Regions from separate parts of the Homo sapiens genome. Here region 1 is linked to region 2. Evidence: promoter capture Hi-C in 16 types of primary human blood cells and fetal thymus (Javierre and others, 2016). All regions are on one chromosome and are shown on one strand. The core of a region is centred on a gene start or on the middle of the fragment in contact, and the rest is flanking DNA. Distances in the headings are between cores, read along the strand shown. Region 1 holds the start of CSN1S1 (casein alpha s1). Region 2 has its middle 2.7 kb from the start of UGT2A1.

What was found. The method cuts DNA at HindIII sites, captures the fragments that hold promoters and counts their contacts. A CHiCAGO score of 5 or more calls a contact.
Region 1: the fragment with the promoter of CSN1S1 here is called in contact with a fragment that was not itself captured in region 2 in 1 of 17 cell types (neutrophils); the score reaches 5.1 in neutrophils.

The regions. Positions count from the first base shown.
Region 1 is chr4:69,929,795-69,932,494 of GRCh38, forward strand. CSN1S1 (casein alpha s1) reads left to right here and starts at 1,274. Exons shown (of 16, transcript NM_001890.2): 1 at 1,274-1,323. The HindIII fragment of the contact is 13,101 bases long and covers 1-2,700 here.
Region 2 is chr4:69,654,615-69,657,314 of GRCh38, forward strand. No RefSeq gene overlaps it. Among named protein-coding and RNA genes, the nearest start is that of UGT2A1, 2.7 kb to the left of the region's middle. RefSeq lists an enhancer at 1,710-2,700. The HindIII fragment of the contact is 688 bases long and covers 947-1,634 here.

The DNA of each region.
Region 1 (2,700 bases), core at 24-2,523, 280 kb after region 2:
TGGTAGGTATAGCTTGATTTTGAGTTAGGAGTAAAATAAATCAGTTTTCCTGGGTACACTTCTGGGAAAAGACAAAACCAAGGTACTGTAATACAGCTGATGCTTGTCTCAGCCTCTTAAATGAATCACAGTGAATAGGAAACACTAGTAAGTTGTTGAAATTTATGTGATGTAGTCAGTAAGGAAAACACTAACTAAAGAGAACTTTAATATGGAAAAGTACATCTCTTCTGATCCCCAATCTGAAATTAACCAGTCTGAAATGTGTGTTAACCCAGAATAATGCCCTTTTCATATGACTGTGAAAAGGCTGTAAATATCATTACTATTTTTTTATTTCCTAAAATATATAGTATGATTCTTTTCCTGTAAAAAAGCAAAGTCGCAGTCAACAACAATTTTTAAAAACCCTCTCTATTACAGATATTTTCCTCAGGATATAGTATTTTTCTACATTGTATAATGATAGTTAACATAAAGGAACAGAGTCTGGGATAGGAGAGAGGCATTTTCATTTCTTTCCTTTATTTACTTTTAAAAAACAGGAAATCAGAGGTATGGCATAATTTTCCAAAATCTTTTAAAATTAAAATTAATGAATAAATATTACTTCTAATTAGTCAATGTTATAATTTGTTAAATAAATACTATCACAACCAATATGCCTAAAAGAAAGCAAACAAAAAATTGTCTGCTGTAGCTTAAATATCACCAAAACACATAGGACAGTTGGATATCCTTCTTTGAAAAAAAGATCAGAGCATATACAGTATAAGTTAATCCATAAAGCAGATAGTCACAATAAATAATAGAGGACAAGCTGCATTTTAAAAGGTAAATAAATGATGAATTCTTTTAATGGCCTGGTACACTGATAGAAATTGGAACGTTTCTAAGACCCTATTTTGTCCCCAGGATTTCCATTATAGGAATTGAATTTTTCAAAAGATATACAGAGAATTTTATTAATATGTTCCTGTCAAATTATCCCTTCAACATAAAATCATGTTTTTATAATAGCCATAAATTTGGAAATTTTTGTATTTTAATTTGCAATAATGCCACTTTATTTCTTGTGTAATCTGTTATCATAGCATGAATCACTCCCTGTTGAAAATTCTCAGAATTTCCTGGGAAAGGAATTGGACAGAAAATTAGTTTCCTATTTGGGAGAATTCTTAGAATTTAAATAAACCTATTGGTTGAACTGAAACCACAAAATTAGCATTTTCTAATTACCACATTTAAATAGCGTAAAGCAAAGAGATCGGCCATCATCTTGGTCATCAACACAACTTGCTTCTCTCCAGACTTGGGCTTAAGGTACTGCGTTTACATACAGCAAAATTGCTATCATTTTACATTATCTAATCTCTTTCTTCCACTGTTTACTAAGTATATTTGTACCATTTCCATATGTTTGCAAATATTAAAACTTCTTATGATTTTCTGGCACCTTAAAAATCCTTTTGCAAATTCTGATACCATTTTACAGCTTTAGGTGATGAATCAATACAGTTTTATAAAAATACCAAATCATTTTTTGATAATTTTGTAACTAAAATATATTTTTAAAGTTGATACATAATTTCAGTAGAGGCTTGGGGTAAGCTAATTTAAATTATTTTTACCTAATTCTATGAGAAGTTGTTATGCAAATAATTTCTTATTTTTGTAATTACCATAGCAAAAACCATTTCTAGCAGAATAGTTCAAGGCCATTTTTGTTTCATGTCATTTGGGCAACAAAATTAACTCTACAATGTGAATATCTATTATAGATAATTAGCTATTGATGGCTACTTTGTAATGATTATTAAATTTAGATATTCAGAAAGACACAAATAGTAAATTTATTTGGGTTCAAAAATATGCCTTTTTTATTAACACATTTAGATTCTAAAATTTGTAGACTGAAGCAATATATATAAATGTCAGCATTTGTATGTTGATTAAGGTGTGAACAAATAGTATGTGTGACCTGATTTTTTTTCTAATGATTTCTCTGGAAACCATTTTCCCAGTACATGTGGATGTCCATATTTCGGGGTTCTTGCAATTTAATGAAACTCTGGAAATCAAATATAAGACATGTCAATATTTTGATTCTATCCAATTCAATCATCTTTATATATTTATGTCATGAATATTCCAATGTAGCAAAACACGAAGTTATGGCTAGATTCTTTATTTAAAAATTGAAAGAGATCAATAGCTTTTACATAACGTGCAGACAGGATTTTTCATGAAGACTCTAAAAGAAAAGAATGCTCTCAAATAGATTTAAAAGAGAAGCTCATTTTCAAAACTTTTCAATAAAATTAAATTCCAGTTCTCAGTGGATTTAACTTTATTGCCCACTTTAGAAAATCTGATTTGTCATCTAGGAGGAAAAGTGTTTTCTTTTTTCAATTGTATTTCAATATTAGCACTTCTTTATTTCTCTAAGCCATATTATTACATTAAGAACAAAATGTTATGTTTTAAAGTGTTAGTGAAGAAAAATGTTTGTAAGAAATTAGTATTTCTAAATAATATAAGAACTAAGAAAAATAACTAGAATGGTAAACATTGATATTGAGTAGTAAAGTTTTTAAAATCTTAAGTTTATAAAAATTCACATTACAGCTCCTCAAATCAGCCTACTTTTATCATAATTTGCTCCTTTGTTGAAAAATCAAGAATTTTTTTCAGGAAACA
Region 2 (2,700 bases), core at 41-2,540:
AGCAAAGCCAGTAACTGAAAATATTGAACAGCATGATTCCCAACTAGACAAAAGAGAGACTCGAAATAAGAAAAATTTATAATGAACACTGGACACAGTAGGCCTGAAGACTCCCTATGATTCCAATATATTTCTAGGTGTAAAAGATTACTGTTATTCTACTCACCCTCCCATGAAGACTAACAGGCTTCATGGGACTAACTCTATAACAAGAAAATATTTTAAATTGGTGAAGCTTTTCTTGGAAATGACTCATTTTACCCAATTCAATGACAACAATTTTCACCACTTATAATTAATGAGAAATACTGAATAAAGTATCATCAACTTCAAGGTTAACCAATAAACTTCTTTGTAAAACAACCATATTTCATACCATGTATGATAATAATTTTTATCAATGTTTAAAAAGCATTTTGAAAAATTCATGTCAAATGTTTTCTTTTCATTTTAATTTCTGAGTTATTTTTCCTATGTGTATCAGTTGTGTATTGCTGTGAAAAAAGTCACTTCAAATTTAGTAGCTTCAACCAACAATCATTTTATTTGCTACCAATTTTTTGGGTGAGAAGTTTGTGCTGGGCTCAGTTGGACAGTTCTACTGATTTCCCTGTATATACCTCATGCAGCAAAAGTCATCCTGGTGGTTCTATGTGATGGTTAATTTTTGTATCGACTTGGCTGGATGATAGTCCCCAGATATTTGGTCAAACGTCATTCTAAATATTTCTGTCTATGTGTTTTGGGAATGAGATAATATTTTACTGGATTATTCTTCACAATGCGGGTGGGCCTCATCCAGTTAGTTGAAGGCCTTAATAGACAATAATTGACATCAGACCTAAGTAAGAAGGAATTCTGCCAGCAGACTGCTTTTGGACTCAAATTGCAACTCTTCCCTGAGTCTCAAGCCTGCTGGCCTACCTTGCATATTTTGGACTTACCAAGCTTCCACGACTGTATGAAGCATTTCCTTAAAATAAATGTACATATCTGTCTCTCTACACACATACATATATACACACTCTCACACACATCCTGTTGGTTCTCTTTCTCTGGAGAACCCTAACACACTCCACTCAGACAGATTGTCTAAGGTGGCTTCACTTAAGTTTTGGATATCGACTCTTGCCGTCACTCTCTTGAAACAATGTTCTTAGACTCTCATGTAAAGAAACTCCATCTAGCTGCACCCTGGCACTGTCCCAAAAAAGTGAGGATAATACCTGCAAGGTTTCTTAAGGATTATGCCTTGAAGTCATATTTTACTTCTGTAGAGTTCTATTAGATCAAACAAGTTACCTGGCCAAGCCTAGGGTCATAGTGGGAGAATTTTGAGGGCCATATGGCAAACAGCCCACCATACAATACATTCTCAAATGGCTTCTCAAATTTTACATTCTTGTGAATGATTCTCTCTTCTTGTGATTAATTTTACACACATTACTTCAATATAAATTTTTATCTCATTGCATTTTCAGTTTTTTTGTAATTTCACATTTATGGTACTCTTACAATGTGCCATGTGCTATTCTAAGTATTTTATGTAGATTAATTTAATTCTTACAACAACCTTTTGAGGTAGGTAATACTATTTTGTTCCCATTTTCAGATGAAAATGCCAAGGCATAGAAAGCTTATGTAACTTGCCCAGTAACACTCAGAGACTTAATGTCACAACCAGTACTTAAATGTATACTATCTGACTACAGGGTATGCATGCTTAGTCATAATGTTATTAAAATATCATTTGTGATGACTGAGGCATCATGGCAGATAGGAGGCAGGACTAGATTGCAGTTCCAGACAGAGCAGGAGACAGAGGCTTGCACATTGAATTTTAGCTCCAGATCGACTGCAAGAGCAAACCGGTAATCCTGAGAGGACCCACAGATCCTCTGCCGGAAGCAGACTGTTTCTGCAGGACCAAGGAGACACCACAGATACTGTGGGTGTCCCAACTGCAGAAATTGGAAAGGGAGACCCTTCTCTTCCAAACACACACCCCACTGGAGAAGCTGTTTCTGACTTTACCTGGAGCTGAGTCAAGTTAGAGAGCTGAGCCAAGTGAAATACAGGGGTAGGGGAAGTAGCGGAAAGACCCTGGGAGCTCGCTGGGTCCCCCAAGCAGCCCATACCTGCCTGGCACCACAGGGATCCACTGGGAGGTTGGCCAGAGAAGTAGGGGGTAAAATACCACAGGCAGAAGGAATTCTCTAGCTAAACTCTGTAACAATTTGAACGGGGCATGAAGCCTCCTGGCCAGTACTTCAAGGAGGGTGTGAATCCAGCATGCAGACCTCACAGGCAGGGGGGAAAACTAAAGCCCTTTTCTTTGGCAGCCGGGAGGTGGAAAGCCTCAGGCAAGTTTTCAAGCAGGGCTCACCCTCCACCTGGAAACAGACTCCAGGTTGTTGAGGGGGACACGGTGGGAGTGAGACTGGCCCTTCAGCTAGCATGTGAACTAGGTGAGGCCTGTGACTGCTGGCTTTCCCCTACTTACCTGACAACCTACATGACTCAGCAGAGGCAGCCGTACTTCTCCTAGTGTGTCCGGAATTGGTGGGTTCTTGGTCTCGCTGTCTTCAAGGATGAAGCCGCGGACCCTCACGGTGAGTGTTACAGTTCTTAAAGATGGTGTGTCCGGAGTTTGTTCCTTCTGATGTTCGGACGTGTCTGGAGTTTCTTCCTTCTGGTGGG